2 separate regions of the Homo sapiens genome follow, and region 2 is linked to region 1. The links are contacts of gene promoters, found by promoter capture Hi-C in blood cells and fetal thymus (Javierre and others, 2016). All regions are on one chromosome and are shown on one strand. The core of a region is centred on a gene start or on the middle of the fragment in contact, and the rest is flanking DNA. Distances in the headings are between cores, read along the strand shown. Region 1 holds the start of TSPAN3 (tetraspanin 3). Region 2 holds the start of SCAPER (S-phase cyclin A associated protein in the ER).

Region 1 (7,130 bases), core at 3,983-6,482:
ATCTCTTTGTGTCATCTTTTCTCTAGGAACTGTTAAAATGTCTCAGTTCACTATGCATAAAAATTCGGAGTAATCAGTGTATTCTATAAAAATGCAGAGAAAAGTTTTAAGGAAATACACCAGATTATTAATAATAGTTATCTCTGGGTTGTTCTTGTTGTAGACTCAAATTTTCTATAATGGATATATGTCAACTTTGAATGCAGAAAGCACTTTTCCAATCAGGTTAAAATATATAAAGTTTTATAAAATCACATAACTACAATTATATTGAAACGTGTACATAGTAAAAGACTGGGAGAAACTGTTCATAGTTTTTTGTTTTTTGTTTTTTGTTTTCCTGGATGTAGAGAAATGAATATTTTTCTTTCTTCTACTTTTTGGAATTTTCCGATTTTTCTATAACAATCATTGTATTCGTCAGGATTCTTGATGAGAAATTACAGAAATAGACTCCAGCTACCTTGAGCAGGAAAGGATTTATTGTAAGAACATTAGGTAGTTCCAGCATCCTTCGGAATGCTGGAAGCTGTGGAAGGTTTAGTAGGAGGGATCTCAGCCAAGGTCAAACCACAGGGATGGTGTGGTTAGGCGGCTGCTGCCGGCACTGCCACCCCGGCACACACAGTCGGCGCTGCTGCCAGACTCAATGCCTGCACTGCCACCGTAAATACTCTCTTTTACTGTCCCTGTGTCTTTGCGTCACTCCCTGAAGGTCCAGATTTCTGGGCAGGATCATCTGACTTGCCAGTATCTATCACATGGCCATGTTCTAGCTGCCTGAGTGCAGGGAGAAAGACTGTCAGGCTCCAGTCTGGGTGCCCCCAAAATTCATACAATGGGGATCTTCCCAAACAGGCAGGGCGATCCAATGCAGGATAGCGCAAAAAAAGACAAATGGCCACAAGCAGGTATTGTTATTATTATTATTATTTGCAATGGCCCAAATCATACTACAGAGCAGATTTAAGAAAGGCACAAACCAGGCTGGGCACGGTGGCTCACGCCTGTAATCCTAGCACTTTGGGAGGCTGAGGCGGGCGGATCACGAGGTCAGGAGATCAAGACCATCTTGGCTAACACGGTGAAACCCCGTGTCTACTAAAAATACAAAAAATTAGCCGGGCATGGTGGCAGGTGCCTGTAGTCCCAGCTAATCGGGAGGCTGAGGCAGGAGAATGGCGTGAACCTGGGAAGCGGAGCTTGCAGTGAGCCAAGATCGTGCCACTGCACTCCAGCCTGGGCGAGAGAGTGAGACTCCGTCTCAAAAAAAAAAAAAAAAAAAAAATGGAAGGCACAAACCACCACAAGCAGGCATTGCTTTACAATGGAAAGAAAATGAATAAACCTTTTCTTTTTTGGTAAAAGATAGACTCTTTGTGTCATACAACATGGATCAGAGTGAATTTTACTTCACACAGTACGGGTTGAAGAACAGAGTTTATTAGGGCAAGTTACAGGCCAGGGGTCAGTAAGCGAAGTCACAATTGCTCCATCCTCCCATCATCCCCAGACAGGTGTGCCACTGTCAGATGCAGCAAGACAGAGTGGGTCTGTGCTTCCTTGGGAGGGACTTCATGCCCTCAGTTGCTCTCTTAGCAACTTTGTCAGTGGAGGTAAAATCAGACTTCCTGAGCACTGGGCAGTAGGAATTTGGAGTTCCAAGAGTTACCCAGGAAGGCTAATTTTCCAGTAAGAAGGATCCTCTCGGTGGGTAGAAGGGGTCAGTGAGGGAGACTGTGGGTCATAATATCCAAGTCTTGGCCCAGGGAAAAGGATGGGTGGACTATTCATGAAGCTAAGGAACACAGGTAGAGGAGAGGCAGGTTGAGGGGAAATTATGAGTTCAGTTTGGGACCTGCCGGGTCTGGCACACATATAAGTTAACCCCATACAAGGTTATGGTATGGTCCCTGTTATAAACTCTCACAGCAGCCTGAGGGTCTCCTTTGTATTGCTTATCCCAGTTGCAATTAGATAAATAATTTCATAATTAGCGTTGAATCTCCGCTCTGGATTGCAAGCTCCCTGGGGCCATCACACACCCAGGTCTAACCACTATGTTGCTAGAACCACCCCCCACCACGTGGCATAGGGTCAGGCACAGAGTAGGTAACCAATAAATGTGTTGAATCAATAAATGAATCCACCTGGAGCAACACAGCAGGCAGTCGGATTCATGGAAAGGAAATTGAGAGAAAGACCTGGGCTGAAGCTGTAGGTTCAGGAAAGTCCTGCACGTGGATAGCAACGGAATCCAGTGCTCTGGGTGAGCTGGCCCAGGTTGGTTGAGAAAATCAAAAGACCTAAGCCAGAACTCTGGGAGACACCAACATCCAATGGGTGCAAGGAACAGGTGCTGCTGCAAAGGCAGACAGTGAACTAAGAGATGATGGTGTTATGGAAGCTAAGGAAAGGCAGAGTTCTGAGTACGAAGAAGTCAACGGAGCCAAATATGGTTAGGTCTCGGAAACAGTAAACTCCGGTGATTACAAAGCACCTGTGTGCCAGGTACTTTTCTGACAGCTATATGTATATGAATGCACTTAATTCTCACAGCAATCACATGATAATTAGGGAAGTAATGTCATCATCATTTTCTCCCTATGATGGGGATACTGAGGCACAGAGAGAGGACCCAGCTAGGCTACCTGGTCCCCGAGCCTGTGCTCTTAACCATGATATATGCCACCTCAGAGAAGGGGTAGCAGATAAGTCACTGGTAACATTGACAAGAGCGATATCGGTGGCACTGTGGGGGTGATGCCACATGGCAGTGAGTCAAAAAGTGAGGCCAGGCACGATGGCTCACGCCTGTAATCCCAACACTTTGAGAGGCCAAGGCAGGTGGATCATGAGGTCAGGAGTTCAAGACCAGCCTGACCAACATGGTGAAACCCCGTCTCTACTAAAAATACAAAAATTAGCCAGGTGTGGTGGTGGACACCTGTAATTCCAGCTACTCAGGAGGCTGAAGCAGGAGAATCGCTTGAACCTGGGAGGCGGAGGTTGCAGTGAGCGGAGATTGCACCACTGCACTCCAGCCTGGGCGACAGAGCGAGACTACATCTCAACAACAAAAAAAAGTGAGTGGGAAGCAAAAGAGTCAAGGGCAGAAGTCCAGCCCCTTGCTACAAAGAGGGGCCCAGCTGCACCCCCACCACCTGGAGTCTGCATCCTCAGGTGATCTGTGCGCAAGGCAAAGTCTGAGAAGCACTGGATGAGATGACTCTTTTAGGAACTTTGGCTAAGAGAAGAAAGAAAAAGTAAAACATGGTGTTTAAGTGAGAGGCTTTTCTTTTTAGGATAGGAGAGGCATGACCATGCTTGTAAACTCAGAACTGTGGTTTGCAGCCCCAACAGCATATTCGAATCACCTGGTGTGTTTTTGAAAAACACCTGATTCCCTGAGGCTCGCCCCCAGAGAATCTGATGGAGTTTGTCTGTGTGGCCCAGATGATTGTAATGTGGGGGGGGGGGGGGTCTGAGACCCACTCAAGGAGAAGGCACAAGAAGGACTTGATGAGACCTTCACAGGGAAATGAGAAGGGACACGATGAGGATGAAGAAATGCAAAGGGGATGTTTTGGAAAAGGAGGAAAAGCACTCAGAGCAAAGCAGACAGAGAAATTTACAGAGGGCAGAGGCGTCAAGAAGATAGATGTTCAAAGGGAATCATGTTTGAGAGCCCATCATTTTTCTTTCTTTAACTAGGACCTCCATGGTATGGCAAGAATGGCACTTGAAACACTTAGATGGTGTTACTGGTCTGCTCAAAGGCTTCTGCCTGGCGTAGTAGGCTGTTGGTGATCCGGCCTCGCTCACCTCCAGCACACTAGGCTCTCTGTGTTCCCCTTCCTACAGCACAGTGATCATGTTCCGGTCTCTGGGCCTTTGTCCTTGCTGCTCTCATCTTTGGGCTGTTCCCCTCACCTCCCTTGGGTCCCCTCCAATGTTCTCTCCTCAGAGAGGACTCCTCTCATCACTCTATTCCTTTCCTCTGAATTGTTTCCTAACACTACCTCATGTCATATACCCACTTGCCCGTTTGTTTATGGTCTGCCTCCTCTGCCCGAACGAATGTAAGCCATGGAAGGAAGGATACGTCTTGCTCACAGTGGAATATCCACCACCGACAACAGTGAGGCCCAGAGGGGACACGCGGCAAGTTTGATGAGTGAATAAATGGCTGTTGCTGCTGCTTGGTGTAAATGCACAGGATGCTGAGATTAACAGGTACTTCTGAGAGTGCCTGGGAAAGGTGATGAGTGGGGGAGATTGCATGAGAGCGAGCTGATAAAGACCAGTAAATGGAAATCCTTACGGGCGCGGTCAAGGAGGGAGTGCAGGATTATAATGGCAGGAAAGACAGCAAACAGAGGCAGTTTATTGTGTGACTGATGATGTGTTTTTTGCACTAGACCACTTACTATGTGTGGCTCTGGGCGAACTTCTTAACCTTTCTAAGCCTCAATTACCCGATCAGTAAAATGAGGCTGATAACCATAGTGCCTTCCATCCAGGGTTGTGGTGGGGGTTAAATGAACTAATGGAGCCTGGCACCGGGTGAGCACCCAATAATTAATTGCTATGACGGATTCAAGATTGGGGGAAGAATGTGAAATGTTGCAATGCAAAGAGATGTTTCTGTAATCGTTGCGAATCTTGGTCCAAAACTTACTACCCTGGAATAGAACTTGTTCCCAACCACTCACCCACACAAACATGTCTCTGCCTTGCTAACGCCATCACCAGCCTTTTCTCCTCTCTGACTCTTCTGAGGTCTAGCCCAGCGCCTGGTACAATAAGTTTCTCCATAAGTATTTGTTGTTTTTCTTTGCACTTCTCACCAACAGTGCTGCCAAGATTTTAACCTGGTCAGGAGAATCTGGTCAGGCAGAGATTAGTGTCTCCAACCTTCCTAGGGGAGAATGGGCTAGGTAGAAAGATAGCACTCAGAGGGCTCTGAATCATCTATAAGGGTGGCATAGTCATAGGAGGAGAGTGGGTTTGGTCCACCAGAACCTCCCTAGGGAGCCATCTGCGTCCAAGGGCGGCCAGAGGCCAAGAAAAGGCGCTGAGGCCTTGGCTCCTTTAAGAGGCGTGGCCTCACTGCAGCCTCCGCAGAGGCGATTGGCTGAAGCTACCGGCCGCGTGGGGCGGGACTCGGTTGCCAGGGAGCGGCGCGGGAGCCCTGAGGGGACTGCGGCGGCTGCGCGGAGGAGCGAGGCACTTGCTGGGGTCGGGGCTGCGCGACGGCGCAGGGGCTGCGGGGAGCGCCGCGCAGGCCGTGCAGTTCCTAGCGAGGAGGCGCCGCCGCCATTGCCGCTCTCTCGGTGAGCGCAGCCCCGCTCTCCGGGCCGGGCCTTCGCGGGCCACCGGCGCCATGGGCCAGTGCGGCATCACCTCCTCCAAGACCGTGCTGGTCTTTCTCAACCTCATCTTCTGGGTGAGCGGGGCCGGGCAGAGCGAGGGGCCGGCGGCGGGGCCGGGCGAGGCCGCGGCGGAGGCGCCCGTGGGGGCCGGGCTTGGGCCTGGGCGGGCGCGCGGGGGCCGCGCGCGGGCCCTCAGGCGGCTGAGGCGAGGGGAGGGCCGGGTGTGAGGCCGCTTCGCGAGGTCCCTGCCGGACCAAGCCGGGAGCCTGGGCGCGGAGGACAGCGAGGGGAGGCCTTCAGGGACTCCACGGCCTCCAGCCGGCGCCTCCGCGCTCGGCCCACGCGGGCTGGCTCCGTGCCAGGCGCCCCAGTCTCCCCCCCCCGGAGTCGCCGGCTGGACGGAGAGCGCTTATTGCAGACTGTAGCAGGACGTCGGGCTCGAAATAGGATCTTCGCCAGAGGCTCAGGTTCCGCGCTCTTTGTCGGGGCCTCGCAGACGAGTGGCCGTCCCGAGGCGGGCAGATCCGCGGGGACGCTGCGGAGCCGGGGCGGGGGTTCCACTTAACGCCCTTTGTGTGTGGAGAACCGGCTGACTGTCACCAGCCCAGAAAATGAAGGGTTTCAACTCGAGGAGCCAAATAATCCATTGACCAAGAACATCGGTCTATTTGTTTTGGTCATGGGGGTGACCAAACTGTGAGATTATAACTCTTGGTTAAATATATGATGGAGATGTCACAAGATTTTGAAAGTGATGAGTTCACTTTCAATAAAAGGTGGCTTATGAATTTTTAAGGGGTACACCCTCTTTGAAAGGAATGTTTATGTCATCTTAGTTTGGGTCCTTATCTCATCAGGGACTTTTATAGTAACCTAAGTTGTTCCTATCCGTCTCTCCACCCTCCAGCCCATCTGGACTTTGCACCCGGATAAATCTTTTAAAACGTTTCCTCTATCACATCACTTGATCTGAAAATAAGGAAAACAGAAGCTTCAGCGGTAGAATAAGGTTCAACTCCTTCCCCTGGTCTTGGAGCAGAAGTCCTCAGTCTGGTCCCAAATCACCTTGCCTCTCTGAACTTGTCATTTCCTTAAACACTTGAGTGCCCTGGACAGATTGCTCTGTCCACAGTCGCCAGAGCACTCCTTGAACATTCCGGTTAACCATACTGTGCCTCTTCCTCCTCCCCATTCAGCTCCTCCCTCCCACGCATACGCACACCTGTTCTGGAAAGAATCCTTTCCTCCTCCCCCGACCCCCCAACAAGGGATAAAACTTCATATCCTGACAGCTGTCTCATAAAAGGATGGTTATATGTTAAAAAGCACTTGCTACACACTTGTATTGCCAGAGTCCTTCGGGGCGTTTGTGTGTGAAGAGTCCTAACTGGGAGGTAGTAGCTGTTGGCAAACACCCAGGCGACATTGGCATTTCCGTGATTTCTTCTTTTCCAATTAGAGCAGTGTTTCTTATACTTTAATTTGAGTTACAGGCTTATTTATTTATTTTATTTTATTTTTTCAGTTTCTTGAGTTTATTGTGAAGAATGAAATGCACATATAGAACCAGTTCCATTAGCAAAAGTCGTATCAGTCTTCTCTTTGTAGATGTGGCATGATTTGTGAATCTGACCATTATAAGGGCATCTTTTGCTAATTTAATACGTATCTATATACCTACTGCTACTTATGCATCCATAACATTTTTTATTCCATAAAGAGAAATGTATTCTACAATGATTAAGTCATTAATTC
Region 2 (7,090 bases), core at 2,031-4,530, 170 kb after region 1:
AATGGTGTAGCTGGTTTGGTAAATCATCTAGCAGATCCAGAAAAATTTAAAAATACAGTTACTATGTAGCCCAGCAATTCTACTCCTAGGAATATACCCAAAATAAATGAAAATATATATCCCCACAAAAACTTGTAAATGAATGCGCATAGCAGCATTGTTCATAATAGTCAAAAAGTGGAAATAGTCTGTATGTCCTTCCACTGATGGATAAATAAAAGGTGATTATATATTCTATACAATGGACTATTATTCAGCCTTAAAAAGGAATGAAGCGTTGATGCATGCTACAACGTGGACATACCTTTTTTTTTTTTTTTGAGATGGAGTTTCACTCTGTCACCCAGGCTGGAGTGCAGTGGAGCGATCTTGGCTCACTGCAAGCTCCACCTTCTGGGTTCACACCATTCTCCTGCCTCAGCCTCCCCAGTAGCTGGGACTACAGGCGCCCACGACCACGCCCAGCTAATTTGTTCTATTTTTTAGTCTAGACGGGGTTTCACCTTGTTAGCTAGGATGGTCTCGATCTGCTGACCTTGTGATCCGCCTGCCTTGGCCTCCCAAAGTGCTGGGATTACAGGCGTGAGCCACCGCGCCCAGAAACATACCTCGAATATATGCAAAGTGAAAGAAGCCAGTTACAAAATACCACATCTCATGACTCCCTTTATACAAGGTGTCCGGAGTAGGCAAATCTATGCATAGAGAAAGTAGATTAGTGGTTGCCTATGGCTGAGAGAATTGAGGGAAAATGGAGAAGTGAGTACTGGGTTCCTTTCCGGGGTAAAGAAAATGCAGTGATGATTGTACAATTGTGTGAATATCCTAAAAACCACTGATTTGTATGTAGGTTACATCTCAATAAAGCTGTTTTATATGTATATAAGAAAGATGAATCATTTTTATTTTTGTCATATTTATTTTTATTAATTCAAGTGGAGATGACCAGTAGGTAGTTAACAATGTGGCCTGGATCCCAGGAGTAGGAATCAGGGCTGGGGATATATATTCGGAAATCCAGAGCATAAAGATGCTAACCAAAGTTATGTAAAAGGCAGTGGTCATGTAGAGAGTGTGTCCAGTGGGAAAAGAGTGAAGGCTTATACCTATTCCTGTGGGATAACAATATTTAAAGGCTGGGAGAAATAAGAGAGACTTTAAAAGAGATGGAGAGGGAGTGGTTAGAGATGGAGAAGTGCTACCAAGAGAGTAAAAATGAAAGGCAAGGAAAAGTATTTCCAGAAGGAAGGAGGGTCATGAAGAGAAATTAAGTTAGGTAATGATGATAATGTCCATAAGATATATAGTAGGGAAATCCCTAGTGACTTTTTTTTTTTTTTTGAGACAGAGTCTCGCTCTGTCGCCAGGCTTGAGTGCAGTGGCATGATCTGTGCTCACTGCAACCTCCGTCTCCCTGGTTCAGCGATTCTCCTGCCTCAGACTCCTGAGTAGCTGGGATTACAGGCACATGCCACCACGCCCAGCTAATTTTTGTTATTTTTAGTAGAGATGGGGTTTCACCATGTTGGTCAGGATGGTCTCGATCTCGATCTCCTGACCTCGTGATCTGCCTGCCTCGGCCTCCCAAAGTGCTGGGATTACAGGCGGGAGCCACCAGCCCAGCCCAACTTTTTTTTTTTTTTTTTTTTTAATTGAGATGGAGTCTCGCACTGTCACCCAGGCTGGAGTGCAGTGGCATGATCTCAGCTCACTGCAAACCTCTGCTATCCAGGTTCAAGGGATTCTCGTGCCTCAGCCTCCCGAGTAGCTGGGACTATAGGTGTGCGCCACCGCACCCGGCTATTTTTTTTTTTTTTTTTTTTGTATTTTTGGTAAAGACAGGGTTTCGCCATTTTGGCCAGGGTGGTCTTGAACTCCTGACCTCAGGTGATCCACCTGCCTCAGCCTCCCAAAGTGCTGGGATTACAGGCGCGAGCCACGGCGGCTGGCCCCTAGTGATGTTGGAAAGAATGGTTTCAGTGGGGTGGTGGGGCAGAAACCAGAGTGCAGTAAGTCCAGACTTGAGTAGTGGTTGAGGAATTGGAGGCACTCTTGTTTAGATAATTGGAGAAATGTATTATAGGAAAGAAAGCAGAGGTTGAAGTGGAGTCTGGTAGGTTCGGCGGGAGATTTCAAGATGGGAGAGACTTCAGGTTGTTTACATGCTTATGAGTATGAAAGGAAGTGGGGATAATTAAGAAATGAGGCCCTGACCGCCTTTTATAGAATTGTAGTATGCTCCCTACTCTATCCCCCTTATCCTACTCATTTTGTTAACTGTAGTGCTTATCATGTTATATAATTTACTTATTTATTGTGTTTACTATTTCTTGTGTTAAAAGCAAAATATTAGCCAAATTAAACAGAGTTTGAGCAAAGAATTATTCCCGAATCAGGCAGCCTCCTGAGCCAGAGTAGGTTCATACAGACTCCCGCAGAGCCACATGGTGGAAAAAGGTTTATAGACAGAGAAAGAAAAGTGAGGTAGGGAAACAGCCAGAATGGTTATAGCTAGACGTTTACCTTATTTGAACACGGTTTGAACAGTTGGCCGTCTTTGGCCAAAACTTGGTGATTGGCGCAAGAGTAGGTTGCAGTGTATTTACACCTCCATTTAGGTTATAGTTTACTATTTACGGAGAAACCTTCAGGCTGAACTTAAAATATGTAAGGACACAGCTTTTGGCTAAACTTGATGTAACACTTGCCTGGTTTCACCCTGCTCCAAGAAGCCGGAGGTTTTTTAGAGATTTCTGTTTATTTTGCTCACGTATTAACTCCAAGCATCTAGAATACCATCTGATATATAGTATGTGGTCAATAAACATTTGCTGAATAAATGAAAAAGCGAGTTTTCTAAGAAGGCAAGAGAGAAGGGGAGCCAGAACATAGCCATATGGTTCCTGCCCCCACAACGCTTGTGAGTCCAGGACTTCCCGCCTACTGCGGGTGGGGAGGGAGAGGGAAGGGTAAAGAGCTGTTTCCCAGCTGGATGAAAAGGGACGGTGAATATTCGTTTGATAATTACAGTCTGCATTGAATCTTTTTTCTATTTTGTTCAGACTGATTTAAACGTTAAAGTATTTAATTCATCATATGTTTGTCTTTGAAGTAGATGAAACGTATTTGTTAGGTCTCTGTACTTCGACCTTCCAAGCCTGGCACACAGAAGGGCCCTGATAAAGCTTCTCGGAGGCCTAGTTGTGTTCAGCGCAGCCCAGCGTGCTCCTGTCAAGTGCTTTCGCCAGCACAGATTTCTGTGAGGCGCGTCTCTAAGTCCTTAATCTGTGGATTGACTGTGGTGATAAGGCAGGAGGAGGGAAGAGATTGAGTACGAGAAAGACCTGTGTGGCCAAAAGCGGCGGTGTAAGCTTAACCTAGGAAAAGAAACAGCTTCGGAAACGCCGCGCCGGGACATCGAACCAAATCAACCCTCACACCTCCCGCCTGGGCGCCCCAACGGCGCGAACGGGCGTGCGCCTGCGCGCGGACAACACAGATCTTGCAGCCGGGAGCGGCGCGGCAGCGGCTGAGATCACGTGGTGCGCCGGGAAGCCACCCCGCCTCTCCGAGGCCTCCCTGCCCCGCCCCGTCACGCCCCTTTCCCGGCGGGACGCTTTGAGCCGCCCCGAACTAAGCAGGGCGGTCGGGGGTGAGTGTCCGCGAGGGGCGTGCGTAGCGCAGACCCGGGCGGGTCCGGGTTGGGGCGCGGGCCGTCTGAATGCCTTGCGGGGACCAGGGGACAAAATGGCGGCGGGGTACGCCCTTTCACCCCCTCCCCTCACCTGGGAGTGCGAGTTGAGCGGGGCAGGGATCGTTGCTGGGGGAGGGGAGCCGCGGTCGCCTGGGGAGGGCTCGGAGGTCGGCCTCGGAGGCCTCGGGACGGGGGCTGGGGTGAGCCGCGTCCGGGCCCTGCCCTGCGGGCTCATCTGGGGTGTGAGGGACGTGAGACCCCGCACACTACGCGGTCTGAGGGGTGAGTGGGGGGCTGCCGCGTCACCTCACTTGGGGGCAGCCCCGGCCGCGGGTGACGAGGCTTCTGGAATGTCTAAATGCGAGGGGCCCCTGGAGGAGCCTCCCTTCGTTTGACAGGTGATCGTCTTCGTCATCTGTCATTCCCAGCGGGGTTTACCATGCTTTCCCTGTACTCTGATCTTAGCTCTGCCCAGGAAACGGGGCAGGAATGGCCTCTCCGTCTTCCAGATGCGTGCGCTGAGGCCTGGAGGGGCGAAGAGCCTCTCGCACCTGGGAGTAGTGGGACCCAGCCTCCTGCCTCTGTTGCTGCTCTTTTCCAAAACAGCACTTCCTTGGCGCCTTTCCTCTACACCGTTTTCCAGGCGCGTTCGTGGGAACGGCACCAGGGAGGAACGGGATTGTTAGAAAGCAGGCACAAAACTGGTCCTGTAAGCAACACCTGCTGCTGTTAAGGGGGCCCCAGCTGAGATGAGGCCGCCTGTTTGTGAGCAGCTTCCTGTTGCTGGTGGACTGCATCTCTTATTCTAGTTGTGACAAGTTATTTTCCATGAAAATAGCTATTCATTAATAGTCATTTTACCGAACAGATACTAATTCCTTATATGAATTATAGTTTGTCTTAGTTTATGGATTAATTTCATCATTAACTTTTCATCTTCATAAATAATCTGGTAGAAGGATGGATGGGCTAGGAGTAATACTTATTTTATGAATGGAGAAACGGGGGCTCAAAAGGTTATTACTTGCCTTAGATCACCAGCTGGTGAGTGGTAAATCTGGGGTTAAGTTTTCTGACCTAAGGTTGGTAGTCTGACCACTGTCCCACTCTGGCCTATACTGGTGCTCTTTCCCTTCTGTTATTTCTGTTAACTATGACTTTTCCTCAAAGTTTGTTGGTTGCAGATGATTTATGCCACTTGAAGAATGATATCCACTAAAGAATTAATATTTTTAATCAATCAAAGAGTCAAGTTTTAATGTGATTTGGAAGGTTGTCTGTGGGAGAAGTAATCTGATGGCTTTGAAGGCAGACTGTTTTGAGTTTGAATCTCAGCCCCAACCCTTGTTTTTGGCAAATTAATTTTTCTGAGCCTTTCTTATCTGTAAAGTAGGAATAATATCCACCTCATAATTTTGTTGATAGTAATAAATTAGGTGTCTGTAAAGTATTGAGAACTGTTCCTAGCCCATGGTAAGCCCTCAACAAATGCTCTTTTCCTTCTTTCTCCACACTCCCTTGAGCTGCATTAAAAATATACTCTATGTGTCTTTGGTCCATTTGGGTCTGGTATAGCAAAATACCTCAGACTGAGTGGCTTATAAACAACAGAAATTCATTTCTTGCAGTTTTGGAGGCTGGGAAGTCCTAGATCAAGATGTCTGATGATTCAGTGTTTGGTGATAGCCTGCTTTCTGGTTAATAGATGGCACCCTCTAGCTGTCTCCTTACATGGTGCAAGGGTGAAGGGGTCTCTCTCTGGCCTCTTATAAGGGAATTTATCCCATTCATTAAGGTTCTGCTTTCATAATACAGTCATCTCCCAAAGGCCCCACCTCCTGATATGACCTTGGAAACTAGGATTTCCACAAGAATTTTGAAGAACACAAACATGCAGACCATAGCATTATGGTTAATCACTTGGTTGTTCAGGTCAAATAACCATGGAAGTGTAATCAGCAGTACTGTACAAATGTGTTTATAAATAAATTTTGGTGACTGGTCCAAAGGATATAGTATTCTAAACAGACTTTAAAAATGTTTGCCATTGGTGCTTCATAGGTATTTTAAGAACTCCTAAAAGATTGATATTAAGGTCATTAATGTCTTCATTTAGCTGCAGGAATGTTTTAAAGATAAGTAAGATGAAGGGACTTGAGATTCTGTCATTTCTTTCACTTTCTTTTTTTTTTTTTTGAAACCGAGTCTCACTCTGTCACCCAGGCTGGAGTGCAGTGGCGCAATCTTGGCTCACTGCAAACTCCACCTCCCAAGTTCAAGCGATTTTCCTGCCTCAGCTTCCTGAGTAGCTGGAACTACAGGCACTCACCACCATGCCTGGCTAATTTTTTTTTGTATTTTTAGTAGAGACCGGGTTTCACCATGTTGGCCATGCTGGTCTCAAACTCCTGACCTCAGATGATCCACCCACCTCGGCCTCCCAAAGTGCTGGGATTACAGGCGTGCGCCACTGCACCTGGCCTCTTTCACTTTCATACCTGACCACAGCCCAGACTAGTTTTAAAGGATAAACAACTTCTTTGGGAATCACATGTGAATGTTATTTAAACACTTAGAAAGTGGGGGTATTATTTAGGGGGAAGTTTAATAGAATTCTCTGTAAGGGTACAATCTGATATCCATTGTGGAATTGGCATTTCTGAAATTGTAGAAGAGAAAACTGTAAATGGCTGGCATAGCAAAAATTAAATCATTAATAAAATTCTGTTTGCAGTTTCTGCTGGATGGTAACCTTTTTTTAAAAAAAAATTCAACTTATATAGTAGAGGGTACATGTGTAGATTTGTTACATGGGTAAATTGATGCCGATGCTTGGGGTCCCAATTATCCCATCACACAGGCCATAAGCATAGTACACAACAGGTGGTCTTTCAGCCCATGCTCCCCTTGGCCTAGTGATCCCTAGTGCCTGTTGTTTGTGACTTTTACAATCACATATTCTGTGTTTAATTCCCACTTATAAGAGAGAACACACAGTATTTGGTTTTCTTTTCTCATGTTAAGTCACTTAGGACATTGGTCTCCAGCTCTATCCGTGTTGCTGCAGAGGGCATGATTTTGTTCTTTTTTATGGCTGCATAGTATTCCATGGTGCATTTGTAGCTAACCTTTTTCACAAACATGTTTGGCTTTCACTGATTGGCTATGGGTCTTGTGAAATATAAAGAGTGAAAAGATCTGGAGTCCAATGATGGAGCTAGTCTTAAAAATTATTAGAGGCTGGGTACGGTGGCTCATGCCTGTAATCCTAGCACTTTGGGAGGCTGAGGTGGGCAGATCACAAGGTCAGGAGATCGAGACCATCCTGGCTAACACGGTGAAACCCTGTGTCTACTAAAAATACAAAAAATTAGCTGGAGGTGGTGGCTCATGCTT

Evidence for each region. The method cuts DNA at HindIII sites, captures the fragments that hold promoters and counts their contacts. A CHiCAGO score of 5 or more calls a contact.
Region 2: a fragment that was not itself captured here is called in contact with the fragment with the promoter of TSPAN3 in region 1 in 5 of 17 cell types (total B cells, total CD8 T cells, non-activated CD4 T cells and 2 more); the score reaches 7.0 in total B cells.

What each region holds. Positions count from the first base shown.
Region 1 is chr15:77,069,211-77,076,340 of GRCh38, reverse strand. It overlaps TSPAN3 (tetraspanin 3), which reads left to right and starts at 5,232. Exons shown (of 7, transcript NM_005724.6): 1 at 5,232-5,449. The coding sequence starts at 5,387. RefSeq lists an enhancer at 4,866-4,925 and a silencer at 5,066-5,765. The HindIII fragment of the contact is 12,417 bases long and covers 1-6,368 here.
Region 2 is chr15:76,901,861-76,908,950 of GRCh38, reverse strand. It overlaps SCAPER (S-phase cyclin A associated protein in the ER), which reads left to right and starts at 3,611. Exons shown (of 32, transcript NM_020843.4): 1 at 3,611-3,652. RefSeq lists an enhancer at 3,265-3,765 and silencers at 3,506-3,815, 3,826-3,935, 3,956-4,035. The HindIII fragment of the contact is 186 bases long and covers 3,188-3,373 here.